Regions from separate parts of the Homo sapiens genome. Here region 1 is linked to region 2. The links are contacts of gene promoters, found by promoter capture Hi-C in blood cells and fetal thymus (Javierre and others, 2016). All regions are on one chromosome and are shown on one strand. Each heading gives the region's core, a stretch centred on a gene start or on the middle of the fragment in contact. The rest is flanking DNA. Distances are from core to core; before and after follow the strand shown. Region 1 holds the start of CALU (calumenin). Region 2 holds the start of ARF5 (ARF GTPase 5).

What was found. The method cuts DNA at HindIII sites, captures the fragments that hold promoters and counts their contacts. A CHiCAGO score of 5 or more calls a contact.
Region 1: a fragment that was not itself captured here is called in contact with the fragment with the promoter of ARF5 in region 2 in 1 of 17 cell types (fetal thymus); the score reaches 6.7 in fetal thymus.

What each region holds. Positions count from the first base shown.
Region 1 is chr7:128,738,093-128,744,589 of GRCh38, forward strand. CALU (calumenin) reads left to right here and starts at 1,267. Exons shown (of 7, transcript NM_001219.5): 1 at 1,267-1,340. RefSeq lists silencers at 874-1,013, 1,084-1,223 and an enhancer at 1,504-1,603. The HindIII fragment of the contact is 1,874 bases long and covers 1,969-3,842 here.
Region 2 is chr7:127,584,398-127,590,716 of GRCh38, forward strand. ARF5 (ARF GTPase 5) reads left to right here and starts at 4,014. Exons shown (of 6, transcript NM_001662.4): 1 at 4,014-4,168; 2 at 4,686-4,766; 3 at 5,088-5,197; 4 at 5,669-5,740. The coding sequence starts at 4,102. LOC105375490 (a long non-coding RNA gene) reads right to left here and starts at 5,449. Exons shown (of 5, transcript XR_007060511.1): 1 at 5,359-5,449. GCC1 (GRIP and coiled-coil domain containing 1) reads right to left here and starts at 1,199. Exons shown (of 2, transcript NM_024523.6): 1 at 1-1,199. The coding sequence starts at 785. It overlaps LOC105375489 (a long non-coding RNA gene), which reads right to left. Exons shown (of 3, transcript XR_007060513.1): 3 at 5,472-5,554. RefSeq lists enhancers at 1-547, 2,835-3,461, 3,462-4,087, 4,088-4,714, 4,715-5,340 and 2 more and a silencer at 3,851-4,340. The HindIII fragment of the contact is 7,240 bases long and covers 1,412-6,319 here.

The DNA.
Region 1 (6,497 bases), core at 1,656-4,155, 1.2 Mb after region 2:
TTCCTATTACTCTTCTTGCTGAATAGTCCATTTGGGACTTCCTTAGTCCAGCCTTAGTCATATCTTCCTCTGAAGCCTTCCCTGACTACCACCAAGGGTCACTGACACTCCTTTGAATGCCAGAAGGATTAGTTGTAAACCTTTCACGTTGACAGTAACTAGCTTGCTTTCATGAGCTTAACTGTTTCATGAGTTTACAACTTGTCTCAATTTGATTTTAAACTACAGAGGCTTTATGTGCTAAGAATGCCACAGGTTTACATTCCATTTGTGTTGAAGCTATAGTAGCCTTTATTTGATATTTGTTTTAATTTCATGACATGAAATTAAATTTTCAGGGACATGCAACGGGTTCGGCCCATTCCCTTCACTTAACATTACTGAGCTGGGCAGTAAGCTCAGAGTTGCAGATATAAAGATGAATAGACAGATACCTACCCAGGAGCTTACTCTAGAAGAGGACAGATGGATAAGCTACATTTTATAGCAGAATTTGGCAAAGTGTACTGAAGCTATAAACAGCTATGATGGTAAATAAGGTAAGAATTATGCTTAGTGAGGTCAGGGAAGGCTTCTAGAGCTAACATCTGAACTGGGACTTCTATTGGCAAGGCAGAAAATCAGGAAAACGCACTTATTCCTGGCAGAGGAAGCCTCTTGATCAAAAATCTTAAGAGATGAAAAAGGACCGGTTGTTAGGAAACAGATGATGGTGCCCAGAGCGCAAGATGAGGGGGAGTGTTGGGAGATGGAGCTAAAAGATACACTGGTGCCAAAGACTGAAGAGCCTCCTGTAGATAGCGCAGGGCGCAGCGCTGAAGGGAAAGAAAAAGTTGGGATTGTTCAATAAAGTTGGTGACTGATTCAGTCGGATTAATTCCGCCCTGGTGGTCTTGTGGGAATGAAGATAACTAGCAGGATAGTCTAAGAAGCCCTGTGGAAGCAGAGTCATGAGCTGTGAATGGGGACGTGGCGGCCACACGGCCGCGCCCACGCCACCCGCAGTACGGGGCTGGGGCTGGGGCTGGGGCTGGAGCCCGCCGTCCCAACAATCCCGGGGACGAGAGTTGGGCGGGAATCCGCTCCACGCAACTCGGCGCGGTCCCGGGGACGTGGCGCTTTCCAGCCAATCCCGGCTATGCGATTGTTAGACCAATGGCTACTCGGGGACGCTATGCGACAGCGGCGGGTTTGCTGATGATTGGTCGGGAGGCCGCCGGCGAGGCGGATGAGGGCGGGGTGCGGACCCGCTTCCGGTTGGGCGGTGCTTGCGCGCGTGAGCTGAGCCGGTGGGTGAGCGGCGGCCACGGCATCCTGTGCTGTGGGGGCTACGAGGAAAGGTAAGTACGGTGATGCCCAGCCCCTTCACCACTGCCTCATCTTTATTCGCTTTCTTTCTGTCCCCGGTCTTGTTCTTGGCGCGGCAGGGGACTGCCTCACTCGGTGCCGCTGTCTCTGCTGGCGCCCGGGTCCCAGGCCTGATGCTGCTGGAGATCCCGGGACCCTCTGTGTGCAGCCTGGGATGGAGGCCGCCGCCCGTCTTACCGCGCGCTCTGGGAAGGGGGCTGGTCCGGTGGAACTCTGTCCCGTTGGGTACTGTTCTGTGCCTGGTTTGCTGCGTCCTGGTCCTCCATCTCTAGGTCACGCCACTCACCGAGTCTCTGGCACCAGAGGGTCATTTTTTGCCTCCGGAAGGTCGGAGGGCATTTGGATAGTGTTATTGTAAGAGTTCCTTGCCGCCTCCACTCACCATCCTGCTTGTATCTGCCAGCTCCGCCCCAAGGCCACATCCCGACAGTAGGGTGCATCTGCCAAGGTCGTGTTCACTCACCTAAAGGGTGCAGAAACAAGGGGGGAGAGAACGAGTGACGACACTAGGTGATATCTATGATTTTAAAGAAAAGCTGAATGTTTAGAGCTTCCATATTTGGCTACGTACTTCAGTTAGCGACGGAAAATAGTTTTTAAAGCTTTATTGGGGAATTAATTTTTGTTACGTTTTTTGTTGCTTCTAGCCCCATATCCTACTGATTTTTAGCATGCTGCGGTCAGAAATAAACTTAATTCCCTATAGCTGCCGCGATTAAGCGTAGAGTGGCTTGCAGTTTCAAAAGCTGCTTTTGCATCAAGGCCCAAGCTCCGTGGGTCTCCTGCTAAAACTTTTGAGCCTGTGATCTGAATTCCTAAGTGTATAAAATTCTAGAATAGTGTCTTCGAGAATTGAGTTGCGTTCATTTTCTGGTGTGGACCATGAAGTCAACGTTAATGAATTGGGAATAAGGTGGCTTCTAGTTGTTTTTTGTTCTAGTAGCTTATTCAGCTTGGAGGCAGAGAACCTTGGAATCTCTGTTAAATTAGTCTGCCATAGAATGGAACTTGACACAAGACAAATGCAAGTTTGACCTCACTCAGTAGATTTAATTAACCAAATACCAAACGACAGTAATCACTGAAGAATTTATATAGTATAATCCAAATGAGGGACCAGATATAACCTCTAAGTTGTATTTGTCAAGAAAATGAGTTTGCCAAGACCTAATCTGAGGTTTTACTGTGATTGGGGGGTGGGGGGGTTCCAATAGGATTCTTTTGAGAATCACAAGTAGGAAAGCCATGAGCTCACAAAAATGTATTGAGTATGCCTGAGTGAATAGTACTCAATATAGCTTTGAAACCAACTCATTGTCACTCTCAATGTAATCATTGTTTGTTTTCATTCATCCAGTGATGTGTCAAGAAGTACTTATTGATAGCACTTAATATCCATTAGAGCAGTATTGGGATCTATATATTGGTGTTATTTTTTAAAATTTATTTATTTTAGAGTTGAGGGTCTCAGTATGTTGACCAGGTGGAGCCTTGAACTCCCATGCTCAAGCAGTCCTCCTGCCTCAGCCTCCCAAGTAGCTGAGACTAGAGGTATATAACACCACACCCTAGTACATTGGTGTTAACACAGATTTTCTGTAACGTAGGTATACCAGGGATATTGAAAGGACAGAGGTGTAGCCAAGGATAGCCACTGGAAATGCTAGCTAGGCCACAAGGCCCTAGATTCTCACTCTCTGAACTCTTAAGTATGGATGTTGCTGATGCAGTAATTTATGTATTAGAGTTAAGACAGCTGAAATAACACTTTTGCCTGTTCCTGGCTGATTGCCAGATCCAGTAAACGGAATTGGAAGTTGGAGAACACAGGCAGGCAGGAACCACATTGCTGCCAAGTACCGCCCAATTAATTCAGTAAGATGTATTAATCCAGTAAAATGTATTGGTATCAAAAAAGTGCAAGACAATGTATTAGGGACAATATAGGGGTAATAATTTGTATTAGAATGATATGTAGACATTCTTCCAGAAATGTCGATTCTAAAGGGGAGCTAAGGAGACAACTTAAGGTAACCTATGGTCATTGTTTTTGAGTGGTTCAGACGAGTTTTATAGAAGTTTAGATTGGATCATACCCTTTTTGTCCAAAAAGAGAAAAAGATAACAGATCACTTCCAGCTAGAGTGATCATAGTAGGTAGGTCTTCTAGGATCTTAAATTTATTTATAGACATCTGGCACTGAAGGAAGTTTGAGCTAAAATAACTACCAAATTCTCAACAGTGTCACGCATGTTACACATGCACAGCAAAATTACAACTAGAAACCAAGGCTCCTATCCCTACATTTCAAATAGCATTTCTCTCACAATTGATTATGTATTAAGGCTTGTCAACGAAAAGGAAACTTTTTTCTCTCAGAATTTCTAGAACTTTTTTCTTTAAAAAGTTTTTTATTCTGTAGCCAGAAAAATTTAAAGTTTGTGCTGGGTTGCTTTGGTTATAGAACTAATGAAGCTTGAGTAATAGTTTCAGACATTCTCAGGGTTTTTCTTCTGCAGCCAGATTTTACACTTCTATTATCTCAGCTGTCTTATAAATGTATTCCCTCCATCACACAATATAATTAGAATGTATTGATGAACAGATGTAACTTCATCACTAGAGAGACGTTAAATAAATTATGTGTTGGTATCATGACTTTTATCAAATCATGAAGGATGCCATCACTTTTATGTGATAGTCCATTGGTATAGTACTAAAGTTTGTAAGTAAAGAATGTCAGATAGATAACAAGATAACTTCATTTTCGAGATCTCATAACCTGGGCCTTAGTATAGTTAAATTGCTATCAGTCTGTTCCCTGTAATCTCCAATTGAAGTAGACAGTTAAACAATGAGATCCTGCTTTTGCTGCGTTATGGAGAAATAAATGCCTTTTCTGGTGAATATCCATCCAGCTCAGAGAACTGGAATTTTACTACCACACCCATTTCTCCCAATTGTTAACATTGAGCAATGGGTCTTTGGTCAACCATAATAACTGTTGGATCACTCAGTGTTAACGTTCTTGTGAAGTTGAATTTAAACATCTAAATTTCCCTGAAACAATTTAAGTATTCTGTGACCAATGGCACTTTACCAAAATTGAAAGTTTGGGCCATGTATTGCTCGCAATACTGGTCCAATGGATACACTATGGACACTAAGGACAAAAACTTCCTTGAAAGCTCTAAGTTCTTACCTGAAGGGTGGGGTAGGGAGAAGTGATAAGAATTTAGAGCTTTTAAGGACATTTTTGGATGGATCGAAGAAACCAATTCTTAAGACTCATTATTATTAAAATCACACTTAACCCAGTTAGGCTTTTCTCTTTATAAATTACTGGAACGATTCATGAAAACAACTTTATAGAAGACCATTATTGGTGACATACTAATACTACAAAAGGATGATAGCTACTGGATATATTTTCTGTTCTAATCTTTTGGTTTGTGTCTAACATGCTGTCCAATAAAAATATAATACAAGCCACATATGTAATTTTAAATTTTCAGGTGAAAATCTAAAACAGGTGAAAGTAATTTTAATAATGTTTAATCTAATACATATAAAATACCATTCTTTCAATATGAAATGTAACACTTATACCAATCGCAATTCACACTAGCCACATTTCAAGTGCTTAGTAGTCACATGTGGCTAGTGGCTACTGTACTGGGCAGTACAGGCCTAGATTTTTTTTTTTTCCCAAGAAAAAAATATTAGATGTTACCCTTCGTGGAAGAGGGACAGAATTTTAGAGAGAGAAACTCATTTGAGAAATGGGAGGTGGGGAAATTCAGTTTTCACAACCATTGGTTTACTTTCTAGATCACATGATAAAAGCTCATACAGCTAAGTCTTTTGTTTATGTGTATCATATTTTTCCTAATATTATGTTGTCCATTATGTCCATAGTATATCCATTGGACCAGTATTGTGATCAGTATGTATGGCCCAATGGATACACAAAGATCTTTCCAGCTGGAAGTGATCTGTACCTATTCCTCTAAACTTTTTTTTTACTTTTTGGACAAAAGTATCCAATTTAAACTTTTTTTTTTCTTTTTCTTTTTTTGAGACAGGGTCTTGTTCCCTCACCAAGGCTGGAGTGTGGTGGCATGATCATGACTCACTGTAACCTCGTGTCTCCGGGGCTCAGGCGATCCTCCCACTTCAGCTTCCCCGGTAGCTGGGACTATAGCTGCGCCACCACACCCAGCTAATTTTTTGTATTTTTGGTGGAGATGGGATTGCCTAGGCTGGTCTTGAACACCAGCATTCCATCCGCCTTGGCCCTCCAAAGTGCTGGGATTACAGGCTTGAGCCACTGCTGCTGGCCCAGTCTAAACTTTTATAAAGTGTTGAAGTGGGTGAGGAAAATGAGAAGGGCCATTAACTTTGTATCATTTGGTTTCAATTTGGTTGAAAAGACAAAGATGCTTCAGAAATGAAGTGTACTGGCTGGTCATGGTAGCTCACACCTGTAATCCCGACACTTTGGGAGGCCGAGACGGGAGAATCACTTGAGGTCAGGAGTTTGAGACCAACCTGGACAACATGGTGAAACCCTGTATCTACTAAAAATACAAAAATTATTCGGGCGTGGTAGACCATGCCTGTAATCCCAGCTATTGAGGAGGCTGAGGCAGGAGAATCACTTGAACCCAGGAGGTGGAGGTTGCAGTGAGCCAAGATCACACCACTGCACTCCATCCTGGGCAACAGAGACAGACTCAGTCTCAACAAAAGAAAACGAAGTGCACTAAAGTAGATTTTCAAATGCTGTGTATGAAGTTATTTTTTACTGTTCCTTTCACATCTTCCCACGTAAGATATCCTTTGTCTTAGATGTCCTTTGTTTCTGCTTGAACATACATGCTCCATACCAAAAACCATATGGTTTTAGATAAATCTAGTACAGTTTTTGGTATGGATGGTGTTTTTTGTTTTTAGTGTCTATATTCATAAAACAAGAGGGCTTTGTTAAAGTTTCTAATAGCCAGGAGTTGTTATATATGTGGGCACAAAGGACGTTTTGTTTTTTTTTAAGTAGAACTTCTTTAAAGTGCAGATTTTTCATTCCTCCCTGCAGAAAGATAAAGAAGTAAAGATGGACCATTGGCTT
Region 2 (6,319 bases), core at 2,764-5,263:
TGGCGCTGGGTCCTCTCCTCCTGCAGCAGCTTCTGGAGCTCACGCAGCATCAAGGCATGGTCACTCTGCTCTTGGGCCCGATCATGCTGCTGCGTGATAAGCCGGGCTTTGGTTTCTGCTATTTGCTCCTGCAGCCCCTTCAATTCTCCCTCCAGGCGGGCCCTCTCCTCCTCCGCCTTGTTACTGGCATCCTCTAAGTCCTGTTTCATCTTTTTCTTGTCAGCCAAGTAAGAAGCCTCCATGCGGGACTTCTCCTGAGTGACTGTAGCCAAAGAACTGGTCAAAGTAGCCAACTGAGTCTTCAGCTGGTGCAGTCTTTTGTCCACCTCCCCACCTGCAAATGGCCCATCCCCACTGCTACTGCTAACGCCACTCTCGGACCAACTGGCCTCTTCGGACTTTGGAGGTGGTGGTCCACGGGCCGGTCTGTCATCTTCTACCCCAAACTCACCCTTGGTGCTGGTGAGACTGGCCGCAGTATCCAAGCTAGTGGCGGTCCCAGTGCTATCCTCGCTGTGAGTGGAGCACCGGTCATCCACAGAGTCAGGAAAGGTGAGGCCTGGAAGCTGGACACCTGCGAGGCCCACATCTGCCTCGTGGGATACCGACAGCACCTTGATGCTGGCCTCTAATGCCTCTTTCTCCTTCAGCAGGCTTTTATAGGCACGGACCACATCCTTGAGCCGTGCCTGGTACTGGAGAAGCTGCTTCTTCTGGGTCTCTATAGTCTCCAGCAAGTCCTTCTTGCTCGGGCCGCCCCCGAAATTCATCCCAAACTTCTCCATGGAGGGTCTGAACGGATTGCCCCACGTCAGCTTTCCAGCAGAACGGGAGAGGGCCGTGAAGACGCAGGCGGGGGCTTAAAGAAACAGCGAGCGGGCTGTCCGGCGGCGGGCCGCACACCTACTCCACCTAGTTATCCCGGACCTAATGCGGAACGGCCGGACGGACTGGCGAAAGCGGCCGCCCGGTCCCAGGCCCGGAGGGCTGGGGCGGATTCTACCCCGGAGGCGGGGCGACACTGGCACCAGAGGTGCGCACTGCCAGGGCTCGTTAGCGCTGGCCCAGAAGCCGCTCCGCACTCTCCGCTCGTCTGGGCCACAGCAGCCCGGGCCGGCCCCCTCGGCCCACGTCGGCCAGAGGGTTACGCTGAGCTCGGTCCCATCACGACATCCTAACTAAAGCTGCCTGCCGACAACGGCGCTTCCGTGTCCGCTGGAAGTGACGTCAGCGAGGCGCCGCAGGCTCCGCCCCCAGTGGGCCCAAGGTAGGCGGGGCCAAGTCGGCCGGTGGGTGGGCGCGGCCTGTTGAGAACGCAGTGGGGCCGCGAGCGGCAAAAAACAGGCTTGGGAAAGGCGAAGCCAGCAAAGTCGAAGACACCAGAGTGGCACCGGTTTTGTGAGAGCGCCCAAGCTTGACCTCGGGCTACGCTCAGCGAGCGACAGAGCAACGTCGCACTGCATTCTTACCAAACACCCAGGTGAACGACGCATCCAACGATTTGGGAGCTCAGGACCCATGGTCCCTAAAAGGCAACAATTAAGACTCCCATTTAGACCACGAAAACTGCAGTCCTCTATAGCACAGTGCTTGGTACCTAGTAGGCATACAGCCTAATAGTACCCTTCCTTAGTTCTGCTGAGTTGATTCCACAAATATTTACGGAGGGCACTCTATAGCCATGTCTATCCTGAGTGCCAGCTATATACCAGGAGCTCACAAGAGTTTTGCTATTTAGTCTTTACAGTAATTCTTGTAAGCACTATACTCATTAGCACTATTTTACAGATATGAAAACATGAGGCAGAAAGGTTATACGTAACATGCCCAAGGTCACACAGCTAGTAAGTTTAGGAGTTCTAATCAGTCTGATTCTCAACGTATCACGTGCTGTGCCAGATGGTAACACCATTAAGAGACACGACCTTGCCCTCAGGGAGCTCGCAATCTAGTGAGGAACCAGACATACAAATATGTCCTGCTATCACACCAGTATGTCTGGGTATATTCAAAGTGGTATGAAAGTTAAGAGGAAAGAGGCCTGTCTAGGTGAGGCATGGAAGGCTCTTGGGAATAATACTTTGGGATTTGAAGGATGAGTCGTGATTGTCCACCTAACCAGAGATCAGGGAAACTAGCATTCCAGGCAGGTGGAAAAAAATGCAAAGACCTGTAGGGTATCGGAGTTTGACTCACCCAGAAAGCATTCAGTAGCTTAGGGTATGTGAAGGAGGTGACAACAGAGGGGCTGGCACAATAGGTAGGGACCCAACTTATGGCATTTAAATTTTATCTTGGGTTATAGTAAGGCCCTAATGGATTTTAATCTGAAAAGTGGGATGTCATCAAGACTTGTATGACATGTTGGAGGGAACAAGGGGCAGGAAACCTGTGAGGAGACTTTCAGTCATGGGGAACAGAAGGTAGTGACAACAGAGATGGAAGCAAAGAGGCTGATAAAAGAGCTAAATGTAGAATTGACCTAACTTGGTGAACACTAGTTCTGTTATTATATTGGAACTCTCTAAAATGTACTCTTCAGCCTCGTAAAAGCCTTCTTAGGGATGCAAGTCTATGACTGAAGAGAAAAGGAAAGTCATTCACTCACTCATACCTGTTTCCCAAAGTCTGTCCTTGTTACAGACTTTGCAGATCAGGATGGGGCAGGCCCTGGAGGTCTGTTCAGACCCCGTTTCTCAGTGGCCCAAATAACATCAAGCTGTATTATACATAACATTCAGTCACATTATCAAATCATTTTAAGATTCACCATAACCCCTTAAGTTAGAACAAGTCTCATTTTATAGATGATGAAATAACGGAAGAGTTATGAGGAGTGCTGAAGCCAAATCCTCAAGAAATGGCAGAATTAAGATTTGAACTAAAGCCTGAAATCACGTGCTGGCAAGTGGTGGGTGCTCAGTAAATATCTGCTGAAAAAGCAAATGAATGAGTGAAGGTTTTTTTATTCCCAGCTCAGTTTACCTCGAGTCCATAAACAATTGATCCTAGAAGCCCACTGGGAATCCAGAGTAGACATAACACCTACCCTCGCTCCATTGAGAATCTATCAGTCCAGTTCAACTGAACAAGCATTTGTTAGGCCTAATAATGCCTGGCAATGAGCCAGTCTCCACCGCAGAAGAATTTCATTCCTATTTTGCTATTCTCCTCTCAGATGTTAAAATGAGGCAGGGAAATGACATGTGAAGCTCTTTGGGTCTACGGAGTCAAGATCTTCACAAAATCCTGAATGGATGTGCAAGAATAAGCCAGGTCCACAAGTCTGTGGCAAAGTGAGGAACTTCGGCAAAGCGGCCAGCGCCTGGACTGAGAGGCGGGGCCCGCAGGGCGATCCAAACGAAGGTGGACTTCTCCAACAGCCCAGGAGTGGGTCTGTGACCCCGCCGCCCAAGGCCGGGAATCTTACACTGGTTCTGCGGATTGGGAATTAGGAAGTAGGCGTTTTGAGGAACCATGGAAGCTAGCTAGCACTCGGGCACCTTCCCCTACCTCCCGCGCACTCTTCACACGACCACCTACTACGCGCAAGTCCCTCGGTGGAAGATGAGGCAGTAAAGGGAGGACCAAGACCCCTAATCGCAGCTTCCACTCCCCAAAGGAGAGTGGTGCACACGTTCAGTGCTACTGGTTCCCAAGGGCTAAAACCGGAGCCCCTAGGGGCCTGGACGCAACAAACCAAAGCCCAGCGGCCGGCCACTGAAAATGGGGGCAGGGGCCGCTGCGGAGCGATGAATCCTTTCCTCAGCCGCGCTCGGGCTGCCGGTTCGGCGGCCACAGGCCTGGCAGGCGCGTTAGAGACCTAGACCCGTTCCCAAGTAAGGGCCGCACGGGACCCAGGCCAGCAGCGGCAACTCGCGGAGCTTCAGCTCCCCTAGGAGCCAGAGCCGGGGGAGGCGGGGCCGAGAGCCGGGGGCGGGGCCCGGACGGGGGCGGGCCCGCGGTGACGTCGGGAGGGCAGCGACGCGCGGAGGCGGCGGCGGAGCCTCCTCCTGCTGCTGCTGCGCCCCATCCCCCCGCGGCCGGCCAGTTCCAGCCCGCACCCCGCGTCGGTGCCCGCGCCCCTCCCCGGGCCCCGCCATGGGCCTCACCGTGTCCGCGCTCTTTTCGCGGATCTTCGGGAAGAAGCAGATGCGGATTCTCATGGGTGAGGCAGATCGAGCGCGCGGCCCGGACCGGGGCGCCGGCCCCGGCGCAGCCCTTCCGCCCCCGCGTCCCTCCAGCCCCGCTCACCTGGGTCTCTGGCCCCGAGTCACCCACCTCATAACGCCCCGGGGCCTCTGCTCTCGGGCGGGTCCCGGTCTGCATCGCCGACCCCGGGGCCTGACACCCGGAGCTGCGGGCCTGGGTGGGGTGAAGCTCCCTCCGCCCCAGCCCGGCTGGTAAGAAGGGAGGATTCCGCCCTTGGAGACGACTTTTAAAACGAGCGCGGCCTACCTCCCGTGCCCCTTGCCTCCCAGTCCTCTCCCGCTCCGCGCCCTCTTTGGAGTTGGCTCACGCCACCCGACTGCCCTCCAGGCCTCAAAGGTAGATAACGACGCGCACCTGGAGGCGCTCCCGCTCTCCGCCCCAGTCACCATCAGCTGTTGTGGCCTCTCCCTTTCCCTGGTCTCTAGGGGGCTCCCTCGCTCCCATCTCCATCCCTGTGCCCCTTTCCGTTGCAGTTGGCTTGGATGCGGCTGGCAAGACCACAATCCTGTACAAACTGAAGTTGGGGGAGATTGTCACCACCATCCCAACCATAGGTGAGCCCGGGGACGAAGCAGGGAGCGGGAGCGCCGCGGCGGGCCCTCGCGGGGTCTGCTCCCAGTTCTGCCACTTTTCTGGAGCTGACCCTGACACCAGATACAGCTATTTGAGAAGTGGGTCAGGGTATCTCTACGTGGATACCGGAGGCAGGGTGGATGTGACCTAGCCCCGCCCTGTTGACCGCCAGTTCTGGGGTTCTGTTCCCCTGGGCCTTGATCATTGCCTTCTGGTTTTGTGTCCCTGCTGAAATCTAAGTAGTTTTAGTGAGTTCCTTTCTTTCAGGAGTTTTCTCATCTTTTTTTTCCAATTATCTGCAGGCTTCAATGTAGAAACAGTGGAATATAAGAACATCTGTTTCACAGTCTGGGACGTGGGAGGCCAGGACAAGATTCGGCCTCTGTGGCGGCACTACTTCCAGAACACTCAGGTGGAGTGTTGGGAGGGGACTTTCTAACCCCACGGGAAAAGGTGTTAGGGCTGGGAGAACAGAATTGTTGGCCTAGGCTGGGCCCCCAGGCCAAGGAAAAAACCCTTCCCCACTTCTACCCCTTCTGTTTGGCTATCCCCTACTCACTCTTCAGAACTCACCTTAGTCTTCCCCAGCTTGGACTTCTCTTTAGAAGCAGGATTCTGGGACCAGGCTGCCTGATTTAGCCCTCATAACATGTCTTTATTTCCTTGCACATCTTTGGATAAACTACTTCCTCTTTGCAGTGGGGTCTCTAGTTTGTGCCATGACTCCTGTAGAGCTTCTATAGAGTTCTGTAAACTTCTGTAGAGTTTACTAGATGAGAAGGATTGACACAATTACAAATGGGAAGAAAACAGAAAGGGCCACACTACGGTATGTCCCAGGCAGAAGTGATTGCTTCTCCTTTCTTCCTTCCTTCCTGCCCAGGGCCTCATCTTTGTGGTGGACAGTAATGACCGGGAGCGGGTCCAAGAATCTGCTGATGAACTCCAGAAGATGGTGAGTACCCAGAGCCCTGGGAACTGAGCCCTCAGCTTGGGGACAGAGTGATCTCTGTAGTGGTATAGAAGTCAGGGAGCCCCCAACAGGCATTGAAGACCAGGAATATAAGTTTTTCTTTGTGGACAGACACATTGTGTATCTCACCCTGTTTTGGATGGGAGTGACTTTTTCACTTTTTCTGTGCATTGTCTTGTCTTTTTTTTTTTTTGAAATGGGAGTTTTGCTGTTGTTGCCCAGGCTGGAGTGCAATGGTGCAATCTCGGCTCACTGCAACCTCCGTCTCCCGGGTTCAAGCAATTCTCCTGCCTCAGCCTCCCAAGTAGCTGGGATTACAGGCGCCCGCTGCCATGCCCAGTTAATTTTTGTATTTTTAGTAGAGACGGGGTTTCACCATGTTGGCCAGGCTGGTCTTGAACCCCCAACCTCAGGTGATCCACCCGTCTTGGTCTCCCAAAGTGCTGGGATTACAGGAGTGAGCCACTGCGCCCGGCCGCATTCTCATGTCTTTACATCTGAGTCTGAGAAGTTGTGGGAGAGATGGGACTTATATGTGGCAAAGAGAAACATTTTACATTC